2 separate regions of the Homo sapiens genome follow, and region 1 is linked to region 2. Evidence: promoter capture Hi-C in 16 types of primary human blood cells and fetal thymus (Javierre and others, 2016). All regions are on one chromosome and are shown on one strand. Each heading gives the region's core, a stretch centred on a gene start or on the middle of the fragment in contact. The rest is flanking DNA. Distances are from core to core; before and after follow the strand shown.

Evidence for each region. The method cuts DNA at HindIII sites, captures the fragments that hold promoters and counts their contacts. A CHiCAGO score of 5 or more calls a contact.
Region 1: a fragment that was not itself captured here is called in contact with the fragment with the promoter of ILDR2 in region 2 in 1 of 17 cell types (total CD8 T cells); the score reaches 5.3 in total CD8 T cells.

Annotation. Positions count from the first base shown.
Region 1 is chr1:167,383,715-167,389,182 of GRCh38, reverse strand. It overlaps POU2F1 (POU class 2 homeobox 1), which reads right to left. Exons shown (of 16, transcript NM_002697.4): 8 at 5,232-5,326. Among named protein-coding and RNA genes, the nearest start is that of CD247, 130 kb to the left of the region's middle. The HindIII fragment of the contact is 864 bases long and covers 2,526-3,389 here.
Region 2 is chr1:166,970,797-166,976,937 of GRCh38, reverse strand. It overlaps ILDR2 (immunoglobulin like domain containing receptor 2), which reads left to right and starts at 1,398. Exons shown (of 10, transcript NM_199351.3): 1 at 1,398-1,715. The coding sequence starts at 1,670. It overlaps LOC124904449 (a long non-coding RNA gene), which reads right to left. Exons shown (of 3, transcript XR_007066714.1): 2 at 6,075-6,141; 3 at 4,191-4,667. It also overlaps a transcript of MAEL not described here. RefSeq lists silencers at 979-1,028, 1,149-1,438, 1,499-1,548 and an enhancer at 6,132-6,141. The HindIII fragment of the contact is 7,595 bases long and covers 1-2,878 here.

The DNA of each region.
Region 1 (5,468 bases), core at 1,708-4,207, 410 kb before region 2:
ATCTCCAACCTGTGACACAGTATTATAAAAACAGTATTCAAGATCATAATTCAAAATCATTAAGGGGGAAAAGTAAACCACCTGCAGTTTAAATAGCTTATAACAGGTTTCGCTTTTGTATATCTGTTCCAGTTTTTTCCCCAAGGACCTATATCTTTAAACCTTCACTGTAATTATGGTATACAAAATTTTACTCTCTGCTTTTCTTATTTAACGTTGTTTTAACAGAGCAAGACACTGTCTCTAAAAAATAAAAATTAATAAAAATTAAAAATAAAAATAACTTTTTGGAAGAGAGAGGGTGATGGAGACAGGCATGCAAGCACAGGCACACATACTCTCTAAGCCTATGCTAACACCAGTTAATCGAGCAAGAATCTATAGAAGATGAAAACCCCAAATTAACCAAAATCCAAATTAATTTTCTGGAATTTGTCAGCTAACCGAGGACTTTTAAAGAAGAGTGAATATATTTAATGGTTTAAATAGTTGTCTGGATATATAGCATTTTTATTTGTTTTAAGCACTACCACTGACTTACTCTTTGATAGCTTGGACTACTGAAATCAGGAGTATTTCAGTTTTCATAGTTATCCTTTTTAAAAACTAAGGCAATATTCTCATAATTTACTTAACCAGTTCTTAATTGCTAGACAGTTTTTATGTTTTCACTAACATAGATAACACAATGAAAAACTTTATGCATATTAGTTATTTTTTCCACCTATGTGTGTAATTAGTTCTTTTGAGATAAATTCTCAAGGGCTTTTCTGGTAACTAGATAAACAATTTCATGGTTTTTGATACATATCATAACGTTGGTTCCCACTATGCAACACTCTTCCACATGACTTACGTTAGCAGTTTTAAAAAATGTTTTGCTAATTCAAGAAGTAAATGGTAGTTCCCTGCTGCTTTAATTTGTATTTCTCTTACTACTCAATGTCAAAATTTTCCCATGTGTCAATTATTATCTGTATTTCTTTGAATGTGAATTGGATTTACGTCCTTAACCAATTTATATATTAATGATATTTATTCTCATCCTTATCCTTAGAGAGATCCTCAAATTTTATAAAGGAAGCTTTGTCATATTAATGCAAATGCTTTTCCAATTTGCTTTCTTCCTTTTATTTTTCAGGGTACATAAACCTTTAAATTGTCATTTGGGTGAGCTTTTAATTTTCCTTTCTAATATATCCTGTTACTTCAAATCTGAGAAAGCTTCACTTATTTCTAACATTGATAAAATTCCTTTTAATCTGCTAGCTTCTTCTTTGTTGAATATTTGATTATTTAAATCCATGTATAGTTTATTTTGGGACATGAGGGTATAGTCTCTTTTTAAAAATAAAATACTCTACTTTCTTATCACACAAACTTAAGGTTATTCTGTTCTATTCACAAGCCCTGAGTGGAACACACCTCACTAGTGGGAGGCACTGCCTGACTGCATCTTAGTTGCTCAGTTGACTCCTCCTGTGAAGAGTAGCCCAGGTGAGCGATTATAAACCAGAATTACAGATAAAGTCTGTGGCTGTGAATTTTTCTTCTTCAAATTTAGATGAGTTATATAAGCCTGACCTTTACCTTATGAGTCAAGGCTTCCTCCAAAGGAACTAACTGTCCCAGAAAACTACAGAATAAGCATTACACAGGCGACAACTGGAGTTAAGTTCCTCTCTTATCCTGTTTCAATGACAATAACAAAGTTCATTTCTATGTCATGCTGACACTGCGTAATTTTCAACCTGACCATTTTGGAGGAGCCAAAACGAGCACCAACCATAGCAGACCCCTATGTAGCTGTACATTTCTCACAGCGAAACTGGTTGACAGTTACAGGTGAGTCTTAACTATCACATTGTTACTTCATCTCCGGGCCTGAAGTAGCCCCATTCTCAAATAATAAAGGACTAAAAATCGCTTGGGTACCTTTAGATGGGGTGGTTACAGATAAGTTACCCCAGCTCCAGAAACCTCAGGCTGGACTGGGCCAGATCTAGAAATGGCAGAGTAGAATTCAGTGAGCAGGAGTCAGGATGAAGCCACAACGGCCCTGCCACCATATGCAGAGAACGGAGGCCAGGAAGAAGTCTCTGGTATAGGCTTTTTTCAAAATCCCAACCTCACTCTTGCATTCAGCATATTCACAAATTCACCATTTAAAAGGGCAAAGTATATGTTTCAGCAACTACAGTCATACAACTGCTACTAATTGCAGTAGCAGTTACTACAGATAGTAGTAGATACAGAACATTCTCATCACTCCCAAAAGTTCCCTTGTTCCCTTTGCAGTTAATCCCCACCATTAGCCCCCCGTCCCTGGCAACCACTAATATGTTTTATGTACCTTAGTTTTGTCTTTTCTAAAATGCCATGTGCATTGAATCATACTGTATGCAGTCTTTTATGTCTTCTTTCATGTAGTATAATGCTTTTGAGATTCACAGGAGATGCATGTATCAGAAGCACGTTTCTTTTTACTGCAAAGTAGCATTCCATCATATGGATATGCTAAAGCTTATGTTACCTAGTCACCAGCTGATGTATATTTAGGTTGTTTCCAGTTTGAGGTGAATAAAGCTGCTAGAAACATTCACATACAAGTCTTTGTGTGGACGTATGCTTTCATTTCTAGGGACAGAACTGCTGGGTCACAAGGTACATGCACATTTAATTTTATAAGAAACTGCCAGCCTGGTGCGGTGGCTCACGCCTGTCATCTCAACACTTTGGGAGGCCAAGACACGCAGATTGCTTGAGCCCAGGGGTTCAAGACCAGCCTAGGCAACATGGCGAAACCCCATCTCTACAAAAAATAGCTGGGCATGGTGATGCACGCCTGTAGTCCCAGCTACTCAGGAGGCTGATGCGGGAGGATTGCTTGAGCTTGGGAGGTCAGGCTGCTAGAGTGGGCTGTGATTGTGCCACTGCACTCCAGCCTGGGTGACAGAGCAAGACCTTGCCTCCCCCTCACCCCCCCAAAAAGAAACTGCCAAAATAATTTCCAAAGTGTGTATACCATTTTGCAACACCACTAAGCAATGTATGAGAACTCTAGTCGCTTTACCTTCTTGCCAACACTTGGTTTTGTCATAGCCTTTTAAATTTTGCTTATTCTAGTGACTGTGTAGTGATATTTCATTTAAATTTTCCTGATCACTAACGGTTTTTGAGCATCTTTTCATATGCCTGCTGGACATTTACATATCATCTTTGGTGACGTATCTCCAATTTTTTTGCTGCCCATTCCTTTAAATCAGATTGTCTTATTATTAACTTGAATGAGTTCTTTAGACATTCTGAACACAAATGTTTTATCAGATATGTTTCATAAATATTTTCTCCCCATCTGTGGTTTTCTTTTCATTCACTTGAGAGAAGCTTTTGATTTTTATGAAATTAAATTTATCCATTATTTTATGGTGCTTTTTGTGTCCTATTTAAGAAATCCTTGCCTAACCCAAGGACACAAAGATTTTTTTCCAAGCTTTTTTCTCTAAGTTTAGGTCTATGACCCATCAAACAAATCTTTGTACATGGTGTGAAATAATAGTCAAGGTTTTTTATTTTTTTTCCCTATTGTTTCAGCTGCATTTTTTGAATGACTTTTTTTTTCCCATTGAAATCCTTTGGCACCTTTGGCAAATCAGTTGGCCATATACATGTGGATCTACTGGACCTTCTATTCTGTTCCACTGATCTCTATTTCTATCCATATGCCAGTATTACACTGTCTTCATTACTTGAGTTTTATAATTATTCTTGACATCAGTAGTCCTTCAATTTTCTTCTCAAAATCGTTTGGTTATTCTGTGTTTTCTACAGTTCTATATAAATGTTAGAAACAGTATGCAAATTTCTACAAAAAAGCCTGCTAGGTATTGGTTGAGACTGTTGAATCTAGAGGTCAATTTGGGAAAAACTGACATTTTAACATTTAACTTAAGTCTTCTGATTCATGAACATATTACTTCTTTCTATTTTATAGGTCTTTAATTTTATGCAGCAATGTTCTATAGTTTTCAACTATAGAACTATTTGTATAGGCCTTACAAATATTTTGTTGTTTACCCCTAAGTACTGTAAATTTCTTTTTCTTAATTTCAATTTCCAAATGCTCACTGCTAGTGTATAGAAATGTAAATGATTTTTATATATTGAGTTTGTATCATACTTGCTAAGCTCACTTATTCCAGTAGCTTTTTTTGGTAGATTCCTTAAGATTTTCTACATAGACAATCATGTCATCTAGCAACTAAGATAGTTTTACTTCTTCCTTTCTAATCTGTATGTCATTTATTAATATTTTATTTTATTGTCTTATTGCATTACTGGCACCTTGAGTATAATGTGGAATAAAAGTGGCAACTGGTCACTTTGCCTTGTTTCTGATCTTAGGGGGAAAGTATTCAGTTTTTCGTGAAGTATGATGTTGGTTTTTTTCTTTTCTTTTTTTTTTCTTAATACATGCTCTTTACCAGGTTAAGAAAGTTACCTTCTATATCTAGTTTGCAAGAGTTCTTATCATAAATGGATGCTGAATTCTGTCAAATCTGGTAATGTGTTAGTATTAAGTGATAACTTCCATACTGCAGACAAAGAAAGTCAGAGCTGGAAGGAGATTCAGGATCAGCCAGTTCAGTCACCTAATTTATAGATGAGAAGACTGAGGTCCAGAGAGATAAAATGACATGTTCAAAGCAACAGCTAGATAAGAAGTGGAATCAGGTCTATAATTTAAACCTTTATATGTCTAAATTTTTTTAATATAATTATAGTGTTTATATGGTCTAGTAGAAATGAGCTAAAGCACCATAAAAGCATTGAGAAAAAAGAAAATATAGAGATCAAAATCTCTTAGCAGTTTCTGAGAAAGGGTAAAGGGTAACAATGGATTTTTAACTGAGGCTCACTAGGTTTCCAGTTTAAGTGGTAATATCTACCGCCAAGTATGGTGAGGGGAGATGTCACATAGCTAGAACTCATTACTCATTTACTGCTAATGCAGTTATTCTTTAAGAACATATAAGAAACAGGAACTCTGAAGATTTTCAAAGACTATATTGATTTGGTAGCATTGAGCTGATAAGCCTAGCTTTGATTTTCTGGTCAGTTTTCGAAGACCGAATTATTTTTATTAGATTTAAAAAAAAAATTAAATAAAGTCCAAAAGTCTCCCCAAACAATATGATAAGAGAAAGCAGCCCCCATAGAAGAAAACTGACCTGGGAGGTGAGGGTGATGCTTGGCTGCGACTGTAGGAGGTTGGCTTGGCTTTGCTGAGGTAGTTGCGTTAGAAGATTTTGCGCTTGCAGGAGACCTGTAGAAGAAAAACATGTTATCCAGAAACATTAAAGATTTCTTCGAACACATGGCAAAAGAAAGAAAGAATCAGAAAATGAGCTGAAAATTTCCAGTTGATCTCTGGTAGTCTTACTGGTATCAAAACTCTTATTTATCTT
Region 2 (6,141 bases), core at 149-2,648:
CAGCTGGGATGGTCAGGGAGGTGGCTCTAGACTTTCTGGCTTCTGCAGTTGGAATTTCTCAGAATAAGAAGGGAATTGAGATGTCAGGCAGCCATAAAAGACAGCTGCCCAGGGTCTATTCTTCCCATTTCTCACATGTTCACATACATATTCTCCCTGTCTGTGTACACATTCACTCTTAGGTGTGGAGTCTGTCTGCTCCAGGAACTCCCCTCCAGCCTGGCACCACTCTGTTTTCAGATGCTACTTGAGACCTTTCTGCTATGTCTCTTTCCTCTGCCCAGAATGCCCTCGCCTGCCCCCTTTCCACCAGGGATCCTTGAATGGCTCAAATCTTGTGCTTTCTGCAAATGCCAGCTCAGATGTTACCCCTCCTTTATCGTGGTGCCCCCTCCCCACCCACGACTAACTTAGTCCTTCCTCTATGTTCCCAAGGCACTTTCTCTATGTCTCCATTATTGCACTTGCCCCGTTTTACTAGGAATAAGTATCATGTCTTTAATGGTCTGACCTTCCTCCCTTTCCTCGACCCAAGATGAGGCTCCTAAGGGCAGGAAGTCTATCTCATTCCACTTTGTAACCTTAGTTCTTAGCACCTAGTAGAGGCTTCATAAATATATTTCTTAAGCAAATCATACATTTCTCAGTTCTCTCTCAACACATACATTTTGAGACACAAGACAAATCCGTCTGACAAATAGGAATAATCCATGTGAATGCGTGCTGGAATCTATAAAGTGTTGGATGGATTTAAGCCGTTATAATCATTTATCTCATTCTGGTTTTACATATTTTCTGTTAAAGGGCCGGATGCCCTTATTCTACCTCATATTTTAACAGGAAAAAGTAATGACGCGAGATTCCCGCCTACCTTTTTCAATTCTGCGGAGCCTCTTGCCTGGTTCCTTGCACTGTCAAAAAGGAAACCAGACGGAGGGGCGGGGGTACCGCAGAAGCGAACATTCTAGCCTAGAGGACTTGCTAGTTAAGTCCTGTAAGAAGTTACGCCAAGTCCCCGCCGTCCCCCACCCTCGCCGCTGTCACTCTCTCCCCGTTCAGGTTGGCTGTGGCTGCCCGCAGACACAGGCTCCCCTGCTCGAGTCCCCAGCCAGCGTTCTCGCCCGGGTTCCCGAGCGCGGGCGTCCCTGGGAGAAGCCGCGATGGTCGCTCCCCGCTCGGCGCGGCCCGCGGGGCGGCCTCCCCCGCGCCTCTCGCTGCCTGCCACCCAGAGACCCCCTCTCTCCGCGTGGCCTCAATCACTCCACGCTGACCTTTGGGCCGCCGGGGGCCAGCACGTGACCGAGAAACTTTGGCAGTCGCGGCAGCGGGCGGCGGGGCGGAGGCGCGGGAGGCGGTGCGGCGGCCGAGCTCCCCCGCGCGGCGGGCTCTGCGGCGGGGAGACGCTCGCCCCGTGCCGCGCTGCCTGGGCATGCGGATGCGCCGCCGAGCGCTGCGCGGACCCCGGAAGCCCGCGGCAGCGCGCGCTCAGCCGGCGGCGCGATCCAGCCCCCGGCCCCGCCTGCGCGGCCGGCCCGGCGGGCGCTGCGCCCAGGGACGCCCGGTGCCCGCCGCTCCGCCGCCGCCCGCTGCCGCGGGGTGACAGCGATCCTTCTGTTCCAGCCATTTCCCACTTTCCTCACTCCGTAATTCGGCTGGGAAGTTGGGGAAGATGGATAGGGTCTTGCTGAGGTGGATTTCTCTCTTCTGGCTAACAGGTAAGAGTCCTTTTCAACAGAAACGAATAACTTTGTATATTCCTGTAGTGGTTCTGTTCTCACCGCGCCCCCCGCCCCCCCATTTTCCTCCTTACTGACCATGTTTAAAGCTGCTTAGCGGTCTGGTGGAAAGTGGGGGAGGGGGCAACGTGTGTGTTTGTGTATGTGTTTGTGTGTGTGTGTGTGAGAGAGAGAGAGAGAGAATGATGGGGGCGGCGGGGGAGAAGCCCAATGACAAGTGAGACGCATCTAGATGCAGGTGTTTGACTCATTGGCGCTGAGGTTGTTCTTTCGAATGCATTTCCCCTCCATAAAACGGTTCTCCTTCGGTCTTATCCTGAGTTTGTAATGCTGTGAGTCTTGTGAAAAGCCTGGCTGGAATAAAGGAAGCTCAGAGGGAGCTGATTAATTAAATGAACTGGTTTTCTGGAGGTGGAGGCTAGAGGACTGTCTCCTTAATTTCTTCCCTAGAGAAGGAGGGGGACCCAGGGCATTCTCTCTGTGGCTCTCTGGAGGGTGCAAGGAACTGGAGGTTGGGAAGAAGATGGGGATGGAACCTTCACTGGTTGTGGAGTTTAGAGCCTGGCTCTCTCTTACTTGGTATCATTTGGGGAGTGGTCCCAAATGATAATTAGAAAGCAGAAGAGCCTTTCTAATAGGTGCACTCTCCGCTCCCTAAAAGATAATTTGCAGAGAGATTTAGAGGCATTGGGCTTCTCCCCAGCATCAAAGTCACTGGTCTAGCTGGGTCCTCTGTGCCCTCCCCTCCTTTTTGGTGAACTTTCTCCCCATTCTGCTGGGGTCAGTAGATGCTCTTGTTCTTAACCTATTTCCCCACATGAGGATTCCGATTCCCATAGGGATACAGGGCCTTGGGGTGGCCAGCCCTGAGAGATTCACAAAGCAGCCCTGCTGAAGGGAGTAGGATGGGGGTGAGGAATGTCTGGATAGCTTGGACTGGGTCAGAGGCAACCATTCAAATCAAGGTGGAGGCAGAATGATGGAAGAAATGGAAAAAGGGATCAGAAAGGTGAGGACAGGATGGGGGTGGAAGGCAGGAGAGAAAAGGGACAATAGTACCACATGAGAAGTTTTGTCACCTCTAGCATCACCAGCCAGAAGATCTGGACAAAATCAAGGCACTAGGCAAAGGGGAACAAGCTTAAAATAGCTAAAACAAGTCATGTAAAGGGGGTAAAATACATTTAGCAAGAAAAGGCAAATACCCCATTTCCCTTAGCTTCAGAATAAGATTCTTCATTGCCTAAATATTTTTCCCATTTCAAATGAAATGCCCCTAACATTGCCGTTGCCCCACTGCTGGGTTTAGGCTGGGGGAGGCATCCTCAGCAGAGTTAGCCTCTTCTTTTGGCTGCTTTGAGTTCATCCCTCCCACATTATTCAGATATGAATCATCTCTAATTTCAGGGTTTGGCTGATCCATGCCACCCCGCTCCCCTGGCCTCCCAGTGCCTTCCACTCCCACCCTCACTGATTCTTCACATCCTTAATCTGCCTCTACTCTCGGTTATCAATATTCTCAGGGCACTTAGTCCTTGAGCCTGTATCACAACAGCACTGAAGTCAGCCAGGCATCGGGGGGGGGGGGGAGGGGTCCCTGAGTCAGAGGTGCTCTTTACAGACACGCTGGGGTCTGCCTAAAAGAAGTACTCTGGGGGTTTGCAGGGAGTGAGAGAAGAAGGGAAACATAGAGCTCTCTTTAGATGGCTCACAGCTTTTTATGAAATGGAATCATATCACTGGAGGGTACTACAGGAACTGTAGTTCAGCCCTCTCAGTTTATAGAGATGGAGTCCTAGAGAGGCAATATGCACATAGCACGTTCATGATTGATTAGGGACTAGATTCCAGTTCTCTCAAACTCCAGACCAGTCTCATTTGCCCTCTCCTAAGCTGCCTCTCTGGGCTTTTTGCTGGAGGGCTTTTTGTTTTATTTTTGTTTTGAGGGAGGTGATGGCTTTGTCTGTGCCTTCTGCCACCTGCACCTGGAGAGGCTGTTCTGCTTGGAATCAGGCAACAGGTTAGTTATCAGGACCAGCTCAGCTGTCAGATGGCTGGGGATTCTTTGCTCCAAAAGTGAGACTGACTCCTGGGATCCCATTGATCATCCTCTGCTCCCTGCTCCTGCTTTCTCCTCATCCCATCACTGCTGTCAGAGGTGTGGACAGACAAGCTGCCTCTCAGCCTCAGCAAAGTAGAGGAGCAAACAATGGCGGCTGGGGAGGGGAGGGAGGAGACAGAAGCAGACAAGGAGGAGATGAATTCAGACTCATTCTTCACAGAGAACCATGAGACGAAAGGTGAGAAATTTTAGTCCAGCCCAATCAATGAATTCTCTTTTGAGGGGGTGGTAGAAAGGAAGGGAGACAGGGAAGAACAGATTAAAAATGAGACAGAGAGCCAGGAAAAAAACCACATTCATTCTTCCTCTCCCTCCCTTTCTCTCCCCACCATCTCTCTCCCACTCCCTCTCTATTTCTCCTCCTCTCCCTTCTCCTCCTGTTTCTCTTTTTTAATGCAAGCTGAGCGATTTCTAATCAGCACTTCAGTTTTTTCCTCCAGGCTCTAGCAGCTTCTTCCTTGTCTTTCATTACTAAAATTCTGTATGTCTTCCTGTTATATATTTAGCCTTGTGATTCCTTATTGCCATTGTGATGTTGCTTCCTGTAATATATTGGTTTTGTTATTGTTGCTGTTGTTGTTGTTATTTTGAACAAAACAAAATGCTTACCAGCTGCTATTTTAGCAACAGGTGCCATCTAGCAATAAGACTTGAAGGAGGGTTCACTCTGTCTTTGTTCCTGAATATGGGTGGTGTTTTATCCTTTCCTGGCAGCAGAGGCTGTGAGAAACGCTGGAGCTGTGTCGACACTCTGGGAACACACTCCTGGAGCAAGCGATGTGTTTTCCTGGAGGCTTCTTTGGGTATCTCTATGACAAAGATTGCTTGATGAATTAGCATTTCTTTTTCTTTTCTTTTTTTTTTTTGAGAGACAGAGTCTCACTCTGTCACCCAGGCCAGAGTGCATTGGCACCATCTCGGCTCACTGCAACCTCTGCCTCCTGGGTTCAAGCAATTCTTGTGCCTCAGCCTCCCAAGTAGCTGGGATTATAGGCACGCGCCACCACACCTGGCTAATTTTTGTATTTTTAGTAGAGTTGGGGTTTCACCATGTTGGCTACGTGGGTCTCAAACTCCCAACCCCAGGTGATATGCCCTCCTTGGCCTTCCAAAGTGCTGGGATTACAGATGTGAGCCACCATGCCCGGCCCTTTATTAGCATTTCTTTTGATTTCACTTGTTTGTCTATTCTACAAGCACATATTAAATTCCTGTGATTTCTAAGTATTATACTAAGTGCTGAGAATGAGGCACTAAAAGACATAGTCCTTGCCCTCAAAGCGTTGTCAGTCTAGTCAGTGATTCAAATAAGTTTTCAGCTATGCACAGTTGTTCATGCCTGTAATCCCAGCACTTTGGGAAGCTGAGGCAGGTGGATCTCTTTGAGCCCAGGAGTTTGAGACCAACCTGGACAACACAGTGAAACCTCATCTCTACAAAAAATACAAAAAAATTAGCCGGGCACGATGGCTTGCACCTGTAGTCCCAGCTACCCAAGGGCCTGAGTGGGAGGATTGCTTGAGTCAGGGAAGTAGAGGCTGCAGTGAGCTGAGATTGTGCCACTGTACTCCAGCCTGGGTGACAGAGTGAGACCTTGTCTCAAAACAAAAACCAAAAACCAAGTTTTCCAGTCACTTTGTCATGGTAGTTAAAGGTCCTTTGATGAGAGCCACACCCCTGCTGTGAGAGCATAGAGGAAGCACACTCAACCCAAACCAGGACTGGTGCAGCAGCTCTGAAACAAATTCCCAGAAAACGTGATAGCTGAGTTAAGATATTTGTTCATGAATAGTCAGTGAGTGACTTACTCCTATGTCCCAGAAGTTATGCTGGGGTTGAAAAGATGAATAAGTCATAGTCCTTGCTTTTAAGGTACTCAGTCTGGTGGTGGAGACACCAGTTATGGAGTAGCATTGTGCAAAAGCAGTGATAAAGATCTGTACTCTGGAGTGCCTTGAAGGGGCCCCCAACCCAGCCTGCAGTGGGAAGGGAGGTATAGGGAATGATCATTAGTTGGTCTGGTTTCATGTTCAGGTAGACACCTGGTGACTGAAGGATAGGCTTGGGTGTAAAGAGTTAAAATGTTATTAGCCCTGGAGAAAGAAGAATCGCTTTTAGAGACTGCTGACACCTCAACTTCCGTTATCTCTTTTCCTGTCCTGTATATCTTCCAATTTCTCTTCCTCCTCTGTTCTACTTTTCTCTGTGGAACGTACCTCGTCCATCTTCTTTCGTCACTTTAGCACAGCTCTCCCAGCTCGGCATTGTCCCCCAGCCTGGATG